5 separate regions of the Homo sapiens genome follow, and all the other regions are linked to region 1. The links are contacts of gene promoters, found by promoter capture Hi-C in blood cells and fetal thymus (Javierre and others, 2016). All regions are on one chromosome and are shown on one strand. The core of a region is centred on a gene start or on the middle of the fragment in contact, and the rest is flanking DNA. Distances in the headings are between cores, read along the strand shown.

Region 1 (4,622 bases), core at 2,003-4,502:
TGTAGGCTCAACAAGTGTCTGTTGAATGCATGAATCAACAAAAGGCAGGTGGACTAAAAGAACCATCCTACTTCTCTTCTTTGGGACACTCACACCATGAGACCACCTCATAAGCCTTGCCCCTGTGAGTTTCAGGCCGTCTTCTCAAATAGACTTACCCACCCATCGTAAACAAACTGCATCATGCGAACTCATTCCTTCCAGGCATTACTAATTCTCTACAAGTCCCTCCCCTGGAACCTTACAGTGAAAGTACTCAAAGGTCTCCCTTCTGAGGAGAATATCTCACTGCAAGACACCACCTAGAATTCCACAAATTGATAAACCAAAACACGATGGGCATGACATTCACATATATAACTTCCTTCTCCACCTAGATCGCAGGGGCGAAAACAAAAAAACCCTTTGCTTTGTAGCCTTCATCTTGACCTAAAAACACCCAGAATCCTGATTCTGGGGCCAACCAACCACCTACTTCCAAGCAGTAACAATTCTAGGCACTCTCCAGCCTCCGTTTATCTTCCTTAGTCCTTTCTGATTACTTAAGCAGAAAACACATACACACACACATCTAGGAAATCAACAGCAAGGAAGCAACAGGTTTCCCAGTTAAAAACAGATGTTCTGACTTTGGGTGCATAATTGCCACACCCTTAATAGTTCTGTAATAGCTTCAGCTTCCACTGGCATCTAGCAATAAAGATTTTTAAAGACAGTCAAAGGTCAGGCCCAGAATTACAGCTCCAGCATGAATCACCATCTACTCTATCCACTTCATGTTTTCCCATACTCGGGCCCACACCACCAAGGCGATCTAGTAAGAACTCAAATACCAGAATTAACAATGTCTACTGCACCCTGGCCATGGGGTAGGAACCACAGCAGACCCTGGGAATCAAAGGAGACACAGCAAGGACTCTCAAGGTATTTATCTGATGGAGAACACACACAAGAGGCAGTCACAGCACAGAAAAGCAAGTGCTACACAGGATTACAAGAACGCCCAGGAGAGGCATCCAATCTATGCTGTAGCATCATAGAAGGCCTTTCAGAGGCAGAGGGACCTTTCCCAGAAGGCTGAAGAATGAGCAAGAGGTGCCTGGAGAAAAGGTGTGGTGGGAGAGGCTTCCAGGAGTTCCAAGTAGATGCTAGCAGGTAAGAAAGCAAGACCTCCTGTGGAAACTGAAGGTAGGCAAGCATGGCCGGAATTTTAAAATGTGAAGGTGCCAGGCAAGGTGGCTCACGCTTGTAGTCCCAGAACTTTGGGAGGCCAAGGCAGGCAGATCAGTTGAGGCCAGGAGTTCGAGACCACCCTAGGCAACATGGCAAATCCCCACTCTACAAAAAATACAAAAATTAGCGGATGTGGTGGTGCCCACCTGTAGTTCCAACCACATAGGTGGCTGAGGCGAGAGGGTCGCTTGAGCCCAGGGAAGTCAAGGCTGCAATGAGACAAGATCGCACCACTGCACCCCAGCTTGGGTGACAAAGGGAGACCCTGTCTCAAAAAAAAAAAAAAGTGTGAAGGGAGAAGCCTCTAAGATGACCCAGGAGTCAAAGAGACCCTAAATAGCTTGGTAGATTTAAGTCTCAGAACTTTGTATAAAAAGAGTGAAAGTCCCTTACCTGTCACGAACAATGTAAAAACAAGCCAAACGACTATTTGACAAATGTATCTTGGCACTTACTAAATACTAGTTCCACAATGCACGTTGCTCAGAACACTAACAAGGGTACGAAACTCACAAGAAATTATCATGTGCTTGTAAACTGTTCCTTGAAACATCAGCCGCCATTACCACACGTCTACCTTCCTCTCAGCATTATTTCTTTAATTTTCCTGCAAATAACAGAAAAGTAGGTTTGTCTGGGCTTTAGGGGCAGCGATTAACCCTGAAAATAAGAGTTAATTCTCACCACAATAATACGGTAGGGAATCGAAAAAATTAAACAAGGAAACTAAGCAAAAAGATGGAGGAAATGAAACAGTAAAAAGCAAATTTAGAAAACTCGAGAGGAAGTAAAAGTATTTTCATACACTCAAAAAAAAGAAGTGTCCCACGTGCTTCAGCCAAACCAAACTCCCCTTAACTGTTAAAAACAGAAAATCAAAAGAAGAGCTGTGAGAAATTCATACTTTCGTATCTCTTTGCTGAATAAACACTAAATCGGTACAGTACAGCCAGCTGCCCTGAAAGACCTTGAAATATTAGCCCCAGATAATACAGCACATGACAGTCACCTCCAGAAACTCTCAAAAACCACAAATCATTTCTTGTTCTGACAACCTGATCTACCAACTCTGGTCTAGCCTGCCATTTAATAATCAATAACGTTTCTTGTTAAGCACTTCAACCGTAGCAAAGGAAGATAAAGAAGCATTTGTTTCCAAACCTAAGGTGAGACTTTTTAAATTGGCGCAAGGCGTCTCCATAATCCTTTTCCGCCAATTCCTAATTTCTAAATGTCAAGAACTGGCAGCAGCAGTCCAGTTCCTAGGAGCCCTGGTTTTGAGACAGCACCACCTCCGAATTCCCTCAAAGGGCGTTCTGAACTCACTGAGCAAATCCGGCTGGCTTTCATGTCCCTCTAGCCATTTCTTGCCGCCATGCACTTACAGGAGAAGGACTCGCAAACAGCGGGAGCACCGGGAAAGCCTGGGACTGCCGCCCCCCACAGCACAGCGCTCGGCACAGCGTTAGGGACAGAAGTCACCGTTGTTGAGCCCAGGGCAGCGATCCCAGCTGGCTCGGCCCCCGGGAAGGGAGGAGAAGGACCGGGTCTACTCCCCGAGGGCGATGCTCCCGGGGCAGGGACAATGGGCAGGGGACCCCGCGGTGTGGCGGAGGAGGCGGCGGCCCTCCCCTGCAGGTCTCGGGAGCCCGGCGGCGCTGAGAGACAGGCGGGCCGCCTGGAGCGCGGCGCTCGGGCCTCAGCGCGGCGCAGCCCCCGGGCCCGTGCCCCGCTGGTCTCGGGCAGGGGCTGCGGCCCAGCTCAGAGCCGCCGGACCGCGGAGGAGCCGTCCCGCCCCCGCGCCCTCCGCCCTCCGCCCCCAGCCCCGGTGCGACCCCCGTGCTGCCCGGCGCACTCGCCTGCCCACGGTCTGGTTAGCCAGCTGCTTCATGCGGTTGAACTGCTTCTTCATGGCGGCGGTGGCGGCGGCGGCCCGCGGGGCTCGGGCCGGGCAGGGCGGGGGACAGCCTGGCAGCTACTACATCGCTTCCCGGCCCAAACGGCGGCGCGGCGGTGGCTCCCCGGGCCGGCGGCCCCGCCCTCGCCTCGTCACTTCCAGTGGCACCGCCCGCCCGCCCTCTAGGTCTGGCCGAGCCGAGCTGAGCCCGAGTAGAGCCGAGTCGAACCGAGCCGAGGCTAACAGTGCCTTACCTGACACGGGCGAAGAGCTAGAAGGCCCCGGGCGAGAAGACCACTAGGCCTCCTCCGCCTGGCCTCCCCGACCCCAACGCTGCCCGGTCACCCTCTCGTTTATTTCAACGTATGAAAAGCTGTTTCTAGCAGGGCGCAGTGGTTCAACGTTGTAATCTCAGCACTTTGGGAGGCCGAGGGGGCAGATCACTTGAGCTCGGGAGTTCGAGAGCAGCCTGGCCAACACGGTGAAATCCTGTCTCTACTAACAATACAAATTTAGCTGGGCGTGGTGGTGGACGCCTGTAATCCCAGCTACTCAGGAGGCTGAAGCAGGAGAACGGCTTTTACCCGAAAGGCAGAGGTTGCAGTGAGCCGAGATGGCGCCACTGCACTCCAGCCTGGGCAACAGAGTGAGAGACCCTGTCTCGAAAAAAAAAAAAAAAAAAAAAATTAAAGTCAATGTGTGTTTTCCTTAACACACGTGCTCACACACTCATGTCTTCCTGGTTTGGTGGCCTTGGCTCCAGGTAAGCCCCTTCTTTGCATTGGATGGGCAGCAATGTGGCTTCTTTCATCAGCCACATCTCAAATGTGCTCCTAAATGTCATAGAAAAAGGAAAGAGCTCCCTAACTATGGGATAAAGGAGACTGATGCCAGTTTGGAATTCTTAATATCAAAGAATGAGGGACTTCAAGATCTTTTTAGTGACCTAGGAGAGACCTAGGAAGCATCAGAGCTTCAGATAGGGCAGCAAACTAAAAGTTATCGACATCAATTACAACAGAAAGAGGTAGAAATGAGCCTTCCTAAAACAAGAAAGCAAGCACTACAGGATCGGTTGCAGGACCGGCAGCCAGCCCTGGAGTCAGCACATTCAGGGAAGGCCGGAGGTTCCCATCCACACTGCATCCCCTCCATTCCATGTGGTACCCATCATGCTTCAGTGTTCCACGACGCTTACATGGGTTTTTATGACATAATTTCATCATAACAAGAAATAAACAGATAGTCCAATGAAGTTCTAAAACTTGAGTCTCCAGTTGGCCATTGGAAATGTATTGCTCAGACTTATAAAATAGGAGGAACAACTAGTTTTGATGAAAATGAAATCTACAAACTACAAACACCAAATATTAATATCATCAAGGAGCTCAAACAAAAAAGAAGTCAGGATACTGATGACCATCAGCTTGAATTATCAGTATTACAGAATGTTCATCAACAGAAATTGAGGGAAATAAGTTGTAAGCATCAA
Region 2 (4,513 bases), core at 749-3,248, 140 kb after region 1:
AATGAAAATTTGGGCGAACTGATACGTGATCTTAAAACTGACAAAAAATATTTGTTTAAAAATGACCTTGTTTTATCAAACCTACAAGGCTGTTGACAGTGAGAATCACCATTATTTCTTTATCAGTAAGAAAGAAAAAGTGCCGACACTTAAGCTGACACATCACCAACTGTTAGATGCATCCTGATTTCAGGAATGTTAAAATGTGAAAGGATGCATCTTAGAATTGATGATGTTTTTTTTTAAGCTAAAGTCTGCCTAGGGTAAAAAATCAAAAGTGTACAAATGGGCACACAATGAAAAGTCAGAAGGTGTTTTTAAAAAGGAAGGCCGGGTGTGGTGTCTCACACCTGTAATCCCAGTGCTTCACAAGGCTGAGGTGGGAGCATTGCTGAGGGCACCTAGTGAGACCCTGTCACAAAAACATAAAAAAAAAACTAGCTGGGCATGGTGGTGCACGCCTATAGTCCTAGCTACTTGGGAGGCTGAGACAGGAGGATACCTTTAGCCCAGGAGTTGTAGGCTACAGAGAGCTGTGATTGCACCACAGCACTTCATTCTGGGTGACAGAGCATGACCCTTTCTCTCAAAAGAGTGAAAAAGGGAAATTGGGTTCTGTTACCTCCTTGCTTAAAACTCCCTATCGGATAGGACCCATGTTGTTCATTAGGCCTCTGCGTGCCTCCTGATTTTACTTTCTTTTCTTTCTTTCTTTCTTTTTTTTTTTTTTTGAGACAAGGTCTCACTCTGTTGTTGCTCAGGCTGGAGGACAGTGGTGCAATTGGTCACAGCTCACTGCAGCCTTGAACTCCTGGGCTCCAGTGATCCTCCTGCCACAGTCTCCCGAGTAGCTGGGACTACAGCTGTGTGCTGCCACACACAGATGATTTTAAATTTTTTGGGGAGAGACAGGGTCTCGCTATGTTGCTCAGGTTGGTCTCAAACTCCTGGGGTCAAACAATCCTCCCGCCTCGACCTCTCAGTGTTGGGATTAAGGGCGTGAGCCCCCGCACCTGCTCCTGATTTTCCCTTTGACCACAGTAACTATGATCTAGCCACACAGATATCTTACTGTTCTCTGACTGTGCCAAGAATGTTCTTCCCCTCAGTCCTTTTCATTTCCTCTCTCCTCTTTGCTTGATGGGCTCCTTCTCATCTGCTCAGCTGCCGCTTCCTCAGAGGGGCCCTCCCTGACTACGAGGTTAAAGACAGACCCCCTTCCTGCCGCCTTATGTCACACTCTTCTCTTTCAGTTTCCTCATGGTACTGACTGCTCCTTGATATATTCTTGATTACTCATTTATTTAATGATTCACTTTCTCCCTCTTCTGCCATGTAAGCTTCCTGAGAACAGGGACTGCTTCTGTCTTGTTTACCACTGTAATCTCTGCACCAAGAGCAGTGCCTAGTGCACAGACAGTGTTGAATGAATACTCACGTGACTGCTTGAATGGATGAATGTGTTTGTGTTTTTGTAATCCGCTTCAACTCTGGTGAAATTAGGCAGAAAGAGAAAAGAACAGCAAGTGAAAGCACTTCAGAATGTGAACAGGATTTCAGTTGGGCCGTGAGGAGGAGACCCTACTACCTAGGGAACAGATGATCTCAGCCAGGGCACACTGAAGGAAGAGCTGGGAAGGCCAGTGTGGCTGGGGCTCGGGTGGCAGGAGGTGCGTGCTTCAAGATTGAGAAAGATCATAAAGCCGGCTGAGAATTTTGGACTCCATTCTAAAGGGAGTCAGAAGCCTGTTTCACATGCCCCACAATACCCTGAACTTCTCTGTAGAACTTACCACACTTGCCCTTGTTCTCTCTCTTTCCCACTGGATTTTAAGCCCCATGAGGGCAGGGACCATGTCTTCTTGTTCATCAGTTATTCCCAGGACTTGGCTCAGTGCCCCATGAGTGTCAGTTGGGTGGTCAGACAAACTAATCCTCTGTACAGTCCGGAAATCTGCCTGAGGCTGTCTCCATTTTACCTTTTTTTTTTTTTTTTTTTTAATTGAAGGATCCTAGGAAAATCTGTGAACCTAAAAGGTCACTTTGCAATGCTTATCAACAATGATAATTAGTTTGTCATAGAAGATACCATGAATGGGATTGATGGGGTTCACTACAGATCCAACACATCTCTCGAAATGCACCTGGCGGTGATGGAAGAGATTATTAGTCATATGATACACCAGCACTTGTGTGTGTGTGTGTGTGTGTATGTGTTTAACTACTGTGTTACATTGTGTAAGTCTTCAGTTTTCTCATGCCTTTTCACCTCATGACCTAATCACCTCTTAAAAGTGTTTAAGACTGGCTTGGTGGCTCACACCTATAATCCCATTACTCTGGGAGGCAGAGGCAGGAGGATCCCTTGAGCCCAAGAGTTCAAGACCAGCCTGGGCAACATAAGGAGACCCGCCCACCCCCCATCTATACAAATAATAAAAAAAATTAGCCAGGCATGGTGGTGCACGTCTGTGGTCCCAGCTACACAGGAAGCTGAGGCAGCCTGGGGGGTCGAGGCTGTAATGAGCCATGATCGTGCCACCGCACTGCAACCTGGGTGATACAATGCAACGCTGTCTCAAAAAAAACCAGCAACAACAATAAAAAAAAAACTGATTAGGACGATAAAGTATATAAACTTAATGAGGCAGATAATTAAAGCTTGTATCCATTAGCTTCTGCGCTGTAACAAACTGCTGCAAAGCATGTGGCTTAAAACAACAACCATCTATTTAGCTCACAATTCTTTGGGTTGGGTTCATTCAGGTGGAACTTCTCAGCTGGGCTCATTCCAGCACCTGCCTGGATTTAATCACTTGTGGTCATCTTCACAGAAGACCTCTGCTGTGTAGCAGGCATTGGGCTAGGCCAGGGGGTCCCCACCTTTCTTGCTTCCCAGTAATTTGTCTCAGTAATGTTTTCATAGTACCCCTGAGCCAAAAAACACACTCAGCAGTTCTTTTTAATTAGTTGGGTTTAAACAGCTGAAGTATTTATGTCCTAACAACTTATTAGTCATTTGAAAAAAAAGTACACATAAAATGAAATAAAAATACCATTTTTACTTCATTCTTAAACACCCAGAATTGCTTCCTGAGATGCGTGCCCTGTAGGGCACTTTACAGCTTCACCTTGGAATCAGATTGGACACCACCCCTGTGTTCCACATCCACATTGGCACAATACTTGCTTTTTTCTTTTTTTGAGACAGAGTCTTGCTCTGATTTGTCACCCAGGCTGGAGTGCAGTGGCACACTCTCAGCTCATTGCAACCTCCGCCTCCTGGGTTCAAGCAATTCCCATGCCTCAGCCTCTCAAGTAGCTGGCATTACAGGTGTGCACCACCACGCCTGGCTAATTTTGTATTTTTAGTAGAGATTCTGGCCAGGCTGGTCTCGAACTGGCCTTCAGCAATTCGCCTGTCTTGGCCTCCCAAAGTGCTGGGATTCCAGGCATAAGCCACTGCGCCCGGCCGGTCTGTTTCTTTAGAAAGTTCTGTAAGTATCACACAAAATGATTTCAGTTGCCTTACATTTTTCTCTCACGAAATAGAATGTAGGAAAAGAAGGGATTGTAGATCTCATTTTGGCAACCAAGTTATCTTTCCCACCAGCTCTCAGAAGCATTCCAGACAGATAAGGATTTTTCTGTTCTCATGGCCTCTTGCCAGTGCTAGATTTTATACAAATGGCTTTATTTTCCCAGAATTATAAAACTCCTTCGAAACTTGCTCTGAGCCTGTCCTCCACAAATACATTCAGTTCCCTACAAAATAATGATAAAGCATCCTTCAAGGACAGATAATGGACCTGTTATTTCCCTACAGCTTGAGTAGCCCCTGACTTAAGAAGAGCAACTGAATCATGGGATGCTGGTGTGAGTTACTCAAGTCATCAAATTCTATCATTCAAAGGGATCTCAAGGTCGTCTTGTCCAGTGCTTCCCATGTGGTATACCAGTATGCCACCACATACGGCTGGGCCACTGCAGAGTGGCGGGTGAGCCTCAAGTCACTGACTCCCTTCAGCTCAGATGTACCTTGTGTACAACTTACAAGAATAATCATGATGATGTGTGATTTTTGCTTTACATGCTAATGTTAGATCCTAATGTGAGTAAGAGAGATCTCCCCTGAACTACATGGTACTAGACTTCATGTGTTAATATTCTGGTGTATTATTTGTTGTTGTTTGGCCAGGGATGGAAAAACTCATTCCAAATGTGCTTATTATTAATATATTTGTTATTTGCAAGAAGTTACACAGGCATTTTGGAATTATTTTCCTAATAGGGTAGGCAACTACCTTCGTATTCTTTTATTTTGTAGAGACAAGGTCTTTGCTCTGTTGCCCAGGCTGGAGTGCAGAGGCACGATCATAGCTCACTGCAGCCTTGAGCTCCTGGGCTCAAGCCATCACACCTCAGCCTCCGGAGTAGCTGGGACTACAGGCATATGCCACCACACCTAGCTAATTTTTTAAATTTTTTTGTACAGACAGTCTTGCTGTGTTGC
Region 3 (4,612 bases), core at 865-3,364, 210 kb after region 1:
TGCTCTGTTGTTCAAGCTGGAGTGCAGTGGTGTGATCTCAGCTCACTGCAACCTCTGCTTCCAGAGTTCAAGTGATTCTGGTGCCTCAGCCTCCTGAGCAGCTGGGATTACAGGTGCCTGCCACTTCACCCCGCTAATTTTTGTATTTGTAGTGGAGATGGGGTTTCACCATGTTGGCAAGGCTGGTCTCAAACTCCTGGGCTCTAGTGACCCACCCATCTCAGCCTCCCAAAGTGCTGGGGTTGCTGGCGTGAGCCACCACGCCTAGCCCCATTACTATTTTTCAGCTGAACAAAGTGAGGCTCAGAAAGGTTCAGTAGTTCACGCAGGGTCGCACAGTAAAATCTGGCAGAGCTGGGATGTGGATGCAGGTATATCTAACTGAAATTGGACATAACCCTTCACTGGCTCTTAAGGTGGGTAGCATGCGTTTTTTAGGCCCTCTCCCCTCAGTTTCCAGCTGTCTCTCTGCCCCACTGTGAGGCTCAGCAGCTTCTCTGTGCAGGCGGTGAGTCCTGAGGAGAGGTTCTGGAATGCATCTGGGGCGGCCTTTGTGACAGTCCAGGAGCAGGGGCAGGTGGCAGGGGCGTTGGTGGCAGAGATCATCCTGACGACGCTGCTGGCCCTGGCTGTATGCATGGGTGCCATCAATGAGAAGACAAAGGGCCCTCTGGCCCCGTTCTCCATCGGCTTTGCCGTCACCGTGGATATCCTGGCTGGGTGAGTGTCCCTTGGCAGTGGGGTGACCATGCCCAGATCTGTGCTGTTCAGCTCTGGGGGATTTCAGGCCTGAGGGTCACAGATTCAGTTGCTATTAGGGGCCAGGAAGGTGCTGCAAATGGGGAGGGGGGCTGGCATCAGGCAGACAACAGGGAGTGGTGGGGACTGCAGTGTCAGAGGTGCTGCAGTCAGTTCAGCTCTTGTCAATTATTGCTGGGTACATGGGTCTGGGCTGATGCTTTCATTCAAAGGAAGTCAGAAATTTAAATCTGTATGTGATGTTTTCCAATGTTGGTAGCGTAAATACAACATTTCTGTGAACTGTGTTCATTCGGTCAGCGGGCAGCCGGGTTTTAGCCTCAGGCTTACAAAGAGCATGTGTAGCTGTTGTCTCATTTATTTTTAGACTCCCAGCAGGCTTTGGAAGGGATTAAGTAGACAAGATTGGGGATGATGTCTCCCGTTTTATAGATAAGGAAACTGAGGCTTAGAGAGGACAGAAGTGACTTATTTAAGGTCAGTGGGCAGTGGCAAATTAAGTGATAGATTTGGGACAAGAGGCTGAGTGAACCCTTTTAATTTTTGTTGTAGAGATAGGGGTCACGCTCTGTTGCCCAGGCTGGTCTTGAACTCCTGGCTTCAAGCCATCCTCCTGCGTTGGCCTCTCAAAAGTACTGGAATTACAGGCATGAGCCACAGTGCCCAGCCCAGGGAGCCCCTCCCTAATGTCTGACTCTTTCCTTTCTTTTGGACACAGAACCAAGTCTAACCTTTCTCCTGGGTCAGCTCTCCCTCAACTTTGGGAGGTGGAGCCTGGGGCAGGCTGGGGAATGTGTGTGTAAAGCTGTGGCCATGCTTTGCTGCCCCCTAGTGGTCTTTGATTCACTTACAAGCCCTTTTTTTTTTTTTTAGCTCCGCTTCCCGGGTTCACGCCATTGTCCTGCCTCAGCCTCACGAGTATCTGGGACTACAGGCGTCCGCCACCACGCCCGGCTAATTTTTTTTTGTATTTTTGGTAGAGACGGGGTTTCACCGTATTAGGCAGGATGGTCTCGATTTCCTGATCTCATGATCCGCCCGCCTTGGCCTCCCAAAGTGCTGGGATTACAGGCTGAGCCACCGCGCCCCGCCTACTTACAAGCTTTTTGACTTCGAAGCTGGACACAGGGTGGGGATGAGGTCTACAGGCCCCCAGCTGGAGAGAATGGGGTAAAGACAGAGCCCCAGAACGAGAGGAGTGCACCTGGGGAAGAGTCTCCCTGTAGGATTCTGGGTCTTAAGCTTGTGGTGCAACAAGGGCCTCATCTGGACCAGCTAGATTAGTTAATGCTTTTTGTACATTAATTATATTCGAGGTGTGGGCTCCATTTGCATTTTCTCATTCACTCCTGATGACAACCTATGGGATAGTCACTTTCACCTCACCTGAACACAGAGAGGTTCATGGAGGTTCCCACACCTAGAACTATCTGGGCTGGGGTTTTTCTTTCTTTATATGTATATTTTTAAAGCTTTGTGGGTGAACCTAGTAGGTGTATATATTTCTGGGTTACATGAGATGTTTTGGTACAGGCATGCAATGCATAATTATCACATCAAGGTGAATGGGGTATTCATCCCCTCAAGCATTTATTTTTTGTGTCACAAACAATCCACTTATACTCTTCGTTATTTTATTTTATTTTTAGTTTTAGTTTTTGAGACAGAGTCTTGCTCTGTCACCCAGGCTGGAGTGCAGTGGCATGATCATGGCTCACTGCAACTTCCAACCCCCAGGTTCAAGCAATTCTCCTGGCTTAGCCTCCCCAGTAGCTGGGACTACAGGCGTGTGCCACTATTCCCAGCTAACTTTGTATTTTTAATACAGACAGGGTTTCACCATGTTGGCCAGGCTGGTCTCTAACTCCTGACCTCAAGTGATCTGCCTGCCTTGGCCTCCTAAACTGCTGGGATTTCAGGCATGAGCCTCTGTGTCTGGCTGAGGTTACATGAGATGTTTTGATACAGGTATGCAATGTGTAATAATCACGTCAAAGTAAACGGGGTATTCATCCCCTCAAGCATTTATTCTTTGGGTCACGAACAATCCTATGATACACTTTTTGTTATTTTATAATGTGTGGGCTGGGTTTTGAATCTAGGTCAGCTTGACTCCAAAAGGATTGAAACTGATTGACTTTCCTTTGTAGACTTTGGAGCAAATGTAGCTCCAGCTTCTCTTCCTGCCATCACCCAGTAGGCATTTTTGCTGGGCATTCTAGAGGAGTGTGTGGGGAGTGCTGGACTGCACGCCCAGCGGGGAGCCATGCCTTCTGCTTCCTGGTGCTAATAGCCCCTCTGCCTTCTTTAGGATCTACCCAGGAGCTCATGATGTAGGAGTTTAGAGAGGGTTTCTGGGTGGTGTGTGACTAGGCCTAGTTGGGGACATGAGTGTGAGGTGAGGTGGGGTTTGGCTGGGATCCTGGTGACCTTGGTGCCTGGGTGTTTGCAGGGGCCCTGTGTCTGGAGGCTGCATGAATCCCGCCCGTGCTTTTGGACCTGCGGTGGTGGCCAACCACTGGAACTTCCACTGGATCTACTGGCTGGGCCCACTCCTGGCTGGCCTGCTTGTTGGACTGCTCATTAGGTAGGAGTGTGACACAGGGTCACCGGCCCATTGGATGGGCACTTGGCAACATCTCCCAGAGAGTCCGGGACTAGAGGGCTAGGCTCTCACTTGGGTTTGGAAGAGAAAAGAGGGAGCCTCTTTAGAGGCAAAGAAAATGGCTCCATCTAGGAGCTTTGGTTGCAAGTGACAGAGATCTATTTCAAAATAGCTTATGTCATAAAGAGGAATTCATTGGCTCACATCATCAAAAACTTCACAGGTAGCAGTGGTTTCAGGTGGCGCTCAAACAATGTCTTTAGGACTTGGTCTTTCTCCTTTTCTTTTTTTGACAGTTTCCCTCTGTTGCCCAGGCTGGAGTGCAGTGGTGTGATTCTGGCTTATTGCAACCTCCGCCCCCGGGTTCAAGAGATTCTCCTGCCTCAGCCTGCCAAGCAGCTGGGACTACAGGCGCCGCCACCACGCCCAGCTAATTTTTATATTTTTAGTAGAGTCGGGTTTTCACCGTGTTGACCAGGCTGGTCTCGAACTCCTGACCTCATGTGATCCACCTGCCTGGGCCTCCCAAAGTGCTAGGATTATAGGCATGAGCCACCGCGCCCAGCCAGTTTTTGTGATTTTTTTGGTAGAGATGGGGCTTCACCATGTTGGCCAGGCTGGTCTCCAACTCCTGACCTCAAGTGATCTGCCTCCCAAAGCGCTGGGTTACAGGCGTGAGCCACTGCACCCGGCTTCATTTAATTCTGGGCTTTCAGAGTGGCAGCAATGAGCATCTTCAGGAAAAGGGTTAGAAACCAAGCAGGACCCGGGCATGTGGTTCACGCCTGTAATCCCAGCAGTTTGGGAGGCCAAGGTGGGTGGATCACTTGAAGTCAGGAGTTGGAGACCAGCCTGGCCAACATGGTTAAAACCCTGTCTCTACTAAAAATACAAAAATCAGCCAGGTGTGGTGGTGCTTGTCTGTAGTCCCAGCTACTCGGGAGGCTGAAGTATGAGAATTGCTTGAACCCAGGAGGTGGAAGCTGCAGTGAGCTGAGATCATGCTACTGTACTCCAGCCTGGGTGAGTGAGACTCTGTCTCAATTAAAAAAAAAAAAAGAAACCAAGCAGGAAACTGTCTCTCTCTCTGCAAGGGGATCTGGCTATTAAGGCTGGGGAGGCTCAGGAAGTCATCTTTCTGGAGACTTCTGAGCCTGGAGACATGACGAAGGGCTGGGTCTCACCTCCGGGGCAGAGACCTTACTGGGTCATCTTTCTTGCAGGTGCTTCATTGGAGATGGGAAGACC
Region 4 (4,013 bases), core at 161-2,660, 160 kb after region 1:
GTGGAAGATCCGTATCTGCCTTTGCTCAAAGTTCAGCACATAAAGGGTAGATTTTTGGCGTTAACTGCAGACAGTCCATAAACTGTTATAATGTTTTCTTAATCATTTTAAAACCACCCATAAACACAGTCTTACCCAACCTTTTGTTTCCTTGCGAAACCTCATTTTATGTAGCAGGAGGGCGGTGCTACAGTGGTCAGCAGTGTGGCTGGTGCCCCTGAGCCGGTCACTGGGGGTCCTCTAGGGGCCTCTGCTCCTGGCCACCAGAGTCTCCTAATGGTGTCTGTGTGTCTCTCCCCTCAGGGCTGAAGGAGATAACTTATTAATCTGTCGAAGGCTTATGCCGAGCCAGAAGCCGAAGCCACTTGCCCTCCTGGAGGAGACCTGCAAGCTCCCTGAGCGGTGGGCGGGCCTCGTCCGCAGGTCTCATCCCACACTCTTGAGAAGCCTTGGTCACTACAGTGGTCGCACATGTTCCTCTTCCTGTTCCTGTTGACATGTCGTTGTTTAAATAAATCTCACTTGCCACCAGTCGCCTGTGGTTGGACCTCTGCTGGCTGCCGCTGCTCGTTCCGTGCCCCATGGCTTGGGCGGGCCAGGGTTCACCTCTGTGTTAGCTAAAGCCAAGGACCCCAAGTCTGCTTTGACCTTGGCTTACTCCCTGTGAGTCACACCCGGCCCATGACCTTGAGTCCATTTTAGGATCTACTCCCTCACATGCTGTTTGTTGCAGCACATGACATTGTGCCTCACTCCCTGACCCTTGTCCTCCACCAGATGTGAGGCTAGTGCTCTTCTCGGGCTCCTGTCTCCGCCCTGGCCACACTGGCCTGCTCAGTTGCCTCCTTCATCTTGGTCATGGTGGCAGGCTGAAGAATGGCCCCTAAAGTGTCCATGTCCTGATCCCCAGAACCTGTGAGTGTGTGTTACCTTCTGTGGCAAAGGGGCTTTGCAAATGGGATTAGGGGTTTGAGATGAAGAGGTGGTCCTGGGTTATCCAGGTGGGCCTGATAGGATCACGGGGTCCTCATTAGAGGGACAGACGAGGCGTCAGAGTCAGAGGGGCCCAGACAAGAAGCAGGGGCAACCAGGGGATGCTACCTAGGGCAATAGCAGCAGACCCTCCCTTGGCCTCCAGCTGGAACTGCCTGCCAACACCTTGATGTTAGCCCAGAGAAATCGATTTCAGATTTCTCACCTCCAGAGCCGTAAGAGAATACATCTGTGGTGGTGGTTTTTTTTTTTTTTTTTTCTTTTTTTTAGATGGAGTCTTGCTCTGTTGCCCAGGCTTGGAGTGCAGTGGCGCGATCTCGGCTCACTGCACCCTCTGCCTCCCGGGTTCAAGTGATTCTTCCGCCTCAGCCTCCCAAGTAGCTGGGATTACAGGTGCATACCATCATGCCTGTCTAATTTTTGTATTTTTAGTGGAGATAGAGTTTCACCATGTTGGCCAGGCTGGTCACGAACTCCTGACCTCAAGTGATCCGCCCGTCTTGGCCTCCCAAAGTGCTGGGATTACAGGCATGAGCCTCTGTGCCCAGACTGATCTGTGGTGTTTTGAGCCACCAAGTTGGGGGCTTAAACTTACAGCCACAACTAGAAGTCAATGCAGTTATGAGACAGGTTCATAGGGCCCCTGAGTGATGACCTCATATTTCAGAAACATAAGGCTTGTCCCATACCTGTCTGCTGAACTCCCTGAGTGATGGGTAGACCTTGTCTACAGGGACTTCTTAAGTTATGTGACTGGCGCTGCGAGCCTGAACCTGCATGTGCAGGGTGGCACTGCAGAAGTCCCCAGCGCTCTCCTCTGCTGGAGAGGTAACAGCCTCTCTTCTACCATTCAGAATCCTTAAATCAGTGTCCCCTAGAGTGTGGGCCCTGCACCTCTAGTGGCATGCCAGTTGATGGGATGTGTTCCTATCAATAAATACCTGTGATAAAATGTATAAATTAGGTGCAGTAAGACTAGCAACAATTTAAAAAAGAACAACTATAGCAATATGTTAAGGTTATGTGAATGTGGTCTTTGAAGATATCTTAACTGGCCGAGTGCAGTGGTGCACGCCTGTAATCCCAGCACTTGGGGAGGCCAAGACAGGTGGATCCTGAAGTCAGGAGTTCGAGACCAGCCTGGCCAACATGGTGAAACCCCCCCCCCACCGCCCCGCCGCCTGTAATTCCAGCTCTTTGGGGGGCTGAGATGGGCAGATCACAAGGTCAGGAGTTCAAGACCAGCCTGGCCAACATGGTGAAACCCTGTCTCTACTAAAAATACAAAAAAAAAAAAAAAAAAATCCGGGCTTGGTGGCAGGCATCTGTAAGGCAGGAGAATTGCTTGAACCCAGGAGGCAGAGGTTGCAGTGAACCGAGATTGCGCCACTGCACTCCAGCCTGGATGACAGAGCAAGACTCCATCTTGGAAAAAAAGAAAATATCTTAGCTATACTCACTTATTTTTGGACCTCAACTGACCTCAGGTAACGGAAACCTTGGAAAACAAAACCACAGGAAAGGGGTAACTCTGGTATATGTATAGCATTAGCAGAAACAATGTTTACTTTTTTTATTGAGACGGAGTCTTGCTCTGTCACCTAGCCTGGAGTGCAGTGGCGCGATCTCAGCTCACTGCAAGCTCCACCTCCCGGATTCACGCCATTCTCCTGCCCCAGCTTCCCAAGTAGCTGGGACTACAGGAGCCCGCCACCATGCCCAGCTAATTTTTTTTGTGTTTTTAGTAGAGATGGAGTTTCACCACGTTAGGCAGGATGGTCTCTATCTCCTGACCTCGTGATCCACCTGCCTCGGCCTCCCAAAGTGCTGGGATTACAGGCGTGAGCCGCCGTGCCTGGCCCCACAATGTTTACTTTTTGTTGTTGTTGTTTTCAGAAAGGGTCTTGCCCCATCTCCCAGGCTGGAGTGCAGTAGTGCAGTCATAGCTCTCTGCAGCCTCAACCTCCTTGGGCTCAAGTGATCCTCCTTCCTCAGCCTCCTGAGTAACTGAACCACAGGCACACACCAGCAAGCCTGGCTATTTTTAACTTTTTTTGTGGAGACAGGGTCTCCCTATGTTGCCAGGGGTGGTCTTGAACTCGGGTTCAAGTGATCCTCCCATCCGTCCTATTCCAAATTTGATATTGAAATTAGGCCAGTTAATAACCCTACAATGGCCTCTACATGCTCAAGTGAAAGGAAGAGTCACAAAGAGTCACATGCCTTTCACTTTAAATCAAAGCTGGAAATGATTAAGCTTGGTGAGGAAGGCACGTCAAAAGCTGAAATAGGGTCGGCTGTGGTGGCTCATGCCTGTAATCCCAGCACTTTGGGAGGCCGAGGTGGGCGGATCACCTGAGGTCAGGAGTTTGAGACCAGCCTGGCCAACATAGTGAAACCTCATCTCTACTAAAAGTACAAAAATTAGCCTGGTGTGGTGGCAGGCGCCTGTAGTCCCAGCTACTTGGGAGTTTGAGGCAGGAGAATCGCTTGAACCTGGGAGGCAGAGGTTGCAGTGAGCGAAGATGGCACCACTGCACTCCAGCCTGGGTGACAGAGTGAGACTCCATCTGAAAAAAAAAAAAAAAAAAAAAAAAACTGAAATAGGCCGAAAGCTAGACCTCTTGTGCCAAACAGCCAAGTTGTGAATGCAAAGGAAAAGTTCTTGGAGGAAATGAAAAAGTGCTACTCCAGTGAACACATGAATGATAAGAAAGCGAAACTGTATTATTACCGATATGGAGAAAGTTTGAGCGGTCTGTATAGAAGATCAAACCAGCCACAACCTTCCCTTAAGCCAAAGCCTAATCGAGAGCAGGGCCCTAACTCTCTTCAATTATGTGATGGCTGAGAGAGGAGAGGAAGCTGCAGAAGAAAAGTTGGAAGCTAGCAGAGGTTGGTTCCTGAGGTTTAAGGAAAGAAGCCGTCTCCATAACATAAAAGTGCAAGGTGAAGCAGCAGGTGCTGATGGAGAAACTGAAGCAAGTTGTCCAGAAGATCCAGCTGAGATCATTGATGAA
Region 5 (4,270 bases), core at 1,681-4,180, 170 kb before region 1:
AAGGCTCCCCAGACATTCCCAAGAAGTCAGGACTGGACCCCAGGTTGGCGAAGCAGTGCACCCTCGGTGGCACCCCACTGCCTTTCCTGGTGCTGTGGCCTCTGCTGCAGATCACAGATTCATGGCCTTCTGTCTGTCCCTCTTCTCCAATCCCAGCTGTTCCTTCTGTAAATCTGTCCCCCAGGGCAGGTCCCTCCCCCAAAGGCCCCATTCATACTGGTGTTGGTCAGTCACCCAGTGTTTGCTCACCCAGGCCACCCTTTATCCAGTCAAGCCACCCTCCACTGCTCCTGCAGGACTCTAGAGCCAGGTGGCCTGGGCTGAAATCTTGCTGTGTCACTTACAACCCGGGTGATCCTGGGCCGATGACTCATCTCCTCTACCTCTGTTACCTCGTCAGTAAGATAGAGATAACAGGACCTAACTTCGAGGGTTGTTGGAAAGACCAAGTGAGTAAAGGCATGTTGTGCCCTTAGAGCCTGGCACGTGTTCATCACTGCTATTATTTCTGGCTACTCGGTGCCAGGACAGGGGCCTCAGCTGAGGGCCCCCCAGAGCCTGGCAGGCCCAGTGAAGGAGTGAGATGGGGAGGCCACGACTCCTCCCCAGTCAGCAGCTGTCCTGTGGCCATGGGGGCCTGGTGAGGCCAGATCTTCAGGTTGTTCTAGAAAAGTGAGTATTCTAGAATTATGTTTCAAGCCTCTTGGTTTGCAAATACTAGTAACTATTTTTAAAATGTTTTGGTATTTGGCCTGGCACAGTGTTTGACCCCTGTAATCCCAGCACTTTGGGAGGCCAAGGTGGGAGGATCACTTAAACCCAGGAGTTGGAGACCAGCCTGGGCAACATAGCAAGATTCTCTCTCTACCAAAAAAATGAAAAAATTAGCTGGGTGTGGTGGTGCACGCCTGTAGTCCCAGCTACTCGGGAGGCTGTGGTGGGAGGATCACTTGAGCCCAGGAGGATGAGCCTGCAGCAAGCTGTGATGCCACCACTGCACTCCAGCCTGGGTGACAGAGTGAGATCCTGTCTCAGAAATAAAAAGTAAATAAAGTTTTGGATGCTTTGAGCATCTGGCAGAAATCTTCGCTATGCCCCGCTGATGTCCTGGGCCCGATGTGGGCGCCTGGCCATGGCTCGGTCACTCCTGACGGTTTTTCAGGGCCTCAGACACCTCTTCTTCTTCTTCTTCTTCTTTTTTTGAGACTGATTTTCGCTCTTGTTGCCCAGGCTGGAGTGCAATGGTGTAATCTCGGCTCACCACAACCTCCGCCTCCCGGATTCAAGTGATTCTCCTGCCTCAGCCTCCCGAGTAGCTGGGACCACAGGCATGCACCACCATACCCGGCTAACTTTGTATTTTTAGTAGAGATGGGGTTTCTCCATGTTGGTCAGGCTGGTCTCGAACTCTCGACTTCAGGCAGACACCTGTTCTTTGCCATGCCTCTGTCTGAAGAGTATATGGAAAGGGGTTGCACAAGCAATGGTTGCTGTTCCTGTTGCTGCCACTGCGGTGAGGGCTGTGGCTGGACGTCCCTCCTGGCACTTTGCCTCTGTCCCCTCCATCCGCCGCCAGCATTTTTCCTCCCCTCCCCTTCCTCCAGCTCGTCCCAAGCCTGCCTGTCCCCAGCGTGGAGGCGGGACAGTGGAAGACTGGGTGAGTGAAGCAGGATGGTGCCTTGGGCTCCAGCGTCTCCCCAACCCCTCCATGCCATGGGTCCCCACGCAGGTGAGGACCCTGGTGGAGGACGGTGTGGGCAGAGCGTGGGACATGTCACCTTCCCCACCTGCTCAGAGTTCAAGGGTCCTGGGCTGGGCCCCGTTCTCTCTTCTGCCCTGGGGAGATCATTCACGCTTCCTTTAATCCCCGCTGCAGCTGAGGCTGGAGTTTGGAGTTTGACCCGCTTGGAGGCTCTCTCAGCAGCGGGCATATAGGAGGAAGGGTCACTGCTGTCTCCGGAAGCTCTTGGCTGCAAAGAGAGAGGATCCCGGGTATCTCCCTCCTTACAACCACCGCCACCTCCTAGTGCCTTAGAAGCCACTGACAGCCCCCAGGGCAGGTGAGCCCTGCATCTGGAATAAGGTAAGACACCCCCTGCCCCCAAACAGGTAGCCACTCTCCAAACTGGGAAGTTGGTCTGGGGACAGGTGCTGGCAGAAGGACTCCAGCTGTCACCTGTGGGGCAGGGGAAGCTCAGCCCTCTCTGCAGAGAAAGCTTGTCATACACCAGGACAATGGAGTGTGTTTGTGGGGTGGGCATGGTGGTATGAAGCCAGCAGCCGGCAGCCAGCAGCACCGTACGTGGGTCCCAGCTCTTCCACTTAACCAAGGTCAGGGACATTGAGCCAAACATTTTGCCTCACCGAGTCTCAGGTTCCTTATCTGTCAAATGGGAATATGAACCTCAGGCTGACCCACCCCACAGGTGTGTTACCCAGAGATAACGAAGGTAAATGTATCCACATAAGCATTAAAAAGCTATAGGAATGTATTTACTACAACTGCAGCTGCTGTTAACTACAAGGCAAATACAAGTCTTCACTGGTACGTGTCAGACACGTGCAGAGAACTTTACGCCTGGATCTCATCTAACTGACACAGAAACCCTGTAAGGTAGGTACAGCACCCCCTAATTCATGGACAGAGTCTAAGGGTCATTAAATAACTTGCTCAAGGTAATACAGATAGTGAGTGGCCAAGCCAAGACTCAATTCCTGTGGCCATGAGCTCAGCCACAATATCAGTGATTTTCTTTTTCTTTCCTTTCTTTCTTTTTCTCTTTCTTTCTTTTTCTTTCTTTTCCTTTCTTTTCTTTGTTCTTTCTTTCTTTCCTTCTTTCTTTTATTTCTTTCCTTATTCCTTTCTTTCCCTTTCTTTCTCCTTCCTTCTTTCCTTCCTTCCCTCCCTCCCACCTCTCTGTTTCTCTTTCTTTTCCCTTTTTTCTTTCTTTCTTTCTTTCTTCTCTCTCTTTTATTATTTATTTCTTCCTTTCTTTCCCTTTCTCCTTCCTTCTTTCCTTCTTTGCCTCCTCTCTCTCTCTGTGTGTGTTTTCTGTTCTCTCTCTCTCTCGTTTCTTTTCTGTCTTTTCTTTCACAGGGTCTCTCTGTGTTGCCCAGGCTGAAATGTAGTACTATCATAGCTCACCAGCATGCCCTGCTAACTTTTTTATTTTTATTTTTTGTACAAATGGGGTCTCCCTGTGTTGCCTTGGCTGGTCTCAATCTCCTGAACTCAAGCGATTCTCCCGCCTCAGCCTTGCAAAGTGCTGGGATTACAGGCATGAGCCACTGCACCCTACCAATCAGTGGTTTTCAAATGGTGTTCTGCTGAATTATTCTGGGCAATAGTTGACAGAAGTGTCCTAGCCCATTGGGCATCCTGCAGATAGGACTTGGAAAAATGCTGTCCCTTTTTTGGGCGGTCACAGCGTGCAAAGGATCTATAGCAAAGGCTCTAAAAATCCCACATTTATTTGTTGTACCAACATTTATTGCATGCCTGTTTTGGGGACACAATGAGAGTGACAGAGACATGGACCTTTCTTTATGGGGCTTGCTGTGCAGTGCAGACAAGGGGTAATCACACACATCAAGTGTTACACTTGATTAGACTGTGATGAGAAGTTGTGTTTGCCATGAAAGCAAAAAGCTTGGGGACCCAATTTATATTGAGGCCAAGAGGGGGCTCCTTTGGGGATATACAGCAGGCTGACATCTAAAGGATGAGTAGGAGCTTGTCCAGCAAAGAGTGCAGGGAAGAGCATCCCAGGCAGAGGGAACAGAATGGCAAAGACCCTGAGGCCAGAAATCGTGTTCCAGGAATAAAATGAATGCTAGTATGTGGTGGGGTTGGAAGCACAACAAAGCACCCCAGCAGCATGGAGATGTTTTGAGCAGGAAAATGATCTGATCTGACTCATACTTAAAGATTTCTCTGGCTTCCGTGTGAGGGGCGGATTAAAAGGAAGCAAGGCTGGGTGAGGTGGCTCATGCCTGCAACCTCAGTGCTTTGGGAGGCCAAGTTGGGAGGATTGCTTGAGGCCTGGAGTTTGAGACCCGTCTGGGCAACATAGCAAGACCCCGTCTCTACAAAAAAATTACAAAATAAGAAGTTAGCTGGAGGCCAGGCATGGTGGCTCACACCTGTAATCCCAGCACTGTGCAGGGATCATTTGAGCCCATGGGGTTGAGGCTGCAGGAGCTGTGTTTGTGTCACTGCACTTTAGCCCAGGCAACAGAGTGAAACCCTGTCTCAAAAAATAAAAAATTA

Evidence for each region. The method cuts DNA at HindIII sites, captures the fragments that hold promoters and counts their contacts. A CHiCAGO score of 5 or more calls a contact.
Region 2: a fragment that was not itself captured here is called in contact with the fragment with the promoter of ARHGAP17 in region 1 in 1 of 17 cell types (neutrophils); the score reaches 5.6 in neutrophils.
Region 3: a contact is called between a fragment that was not itself captured here and the fragment with the promoter of ARHGAP17 in region 1, in 14 of 17 cell types (total CD8 T cells, M2 macrophages, naive B cells and 11 more). The highest score is 8.5, in total CD8 T cells.
Region 4: a fragment that was not itself captured here is called in contact with the fragment with the promoter of ARHGAP17 in region 1 in 1 of 17 cell types (monocytes); the score reaches 5.3 in monocytes.
Region 5: a contact is called between a fragment that was not itself captured here and the fragment with the promoter of ARHGAP17 in region 1, in 1 of 17 cell types (endothelial precursors). The highest score is 5.1, in endothelial precursors.

The regions. Positions count from the first base shown.
Region 1 is chr16:25,012,117-25,016,738 of GRCh38, forward strand. It overlaps ARHGAP17 (Rho GTPase activating protein 17), which reads right to left and starts at 3,253. Exons shown (of 20, transcript NM_001006634.3): 1 at 3,093-3,253. The coding sequence starts at 3,145. It also overlaps the pseudogene LOC100421171. RefSeq lists enhancers at 2,141-2,809, 2,810-3,478 and silencers at 2,792-2,841, 2,902-2,951, 3,012-3,061, 3,142-3,391. The HindIII fragment of the contact is 8,408 bases long and covers 1-4,622 here.
Region 2 is chr16:25,154,961-25,159,473 of GRCh38, forward strand. All of the region lies in intron 5 of LCMT1 (leucine carboxyl methyltransferase 1), which reads left to right. Among named protein-coding and RNA genes, the nearest start is that of LCMT1-AS2, 8.2 kb to the left of the region's middle. The HindIII fragment of the contact is 1,321 bases long and covers 1,339-2,659 here.
Region 3 is chr16:25,223,857-25,228,468 of GRCh38, forward strand. It overlaps AQP8 (aquaporin 8), which reads left to right. Exons shown (of 6, transcript NM_001169.3): 4 at 506-720; 5 at 3,212-3,346; 6 at 4,588-4,612. Among named protein-coding and RNA genes, the nearest start is that of AQP8, 9.2 kb to the left of the region's middle. The HindIII fragment of the contact is 230 bases long and covers 2,000-2,229 here.
Region 4 is chr16:25,177,698-25,181,710 of GRCh38, forward strand. It overlaps LCMT1 (leucine carboxyl methyltransferase 1), which reads left to right. Exons shown (of 11, transcript NM_016309.3): 11 at 304-531. The coding sequence ends at 326. Among named protein-coding and RNA genes, the nearest start is that of LCMT1-AS2, 31 kb to the left of the region's middle. The HindIII fragment of the contact is 3,676 bases long and covers 1-3,248 here.
Region 5 is chr16:24,844,356-24,848,625 of GRCh38, forward strand. SLC5A11 (solute carrier family 5 member 11) reads left to right here and starts at 1,608. Exons shown (of 17, transcript NM_001352248.3): 1 at 1,608-1,657; 2 at 1,877-2,083. The HindIII fragment of the contact is 1,433 bases long and covers 2,215-3,647 here.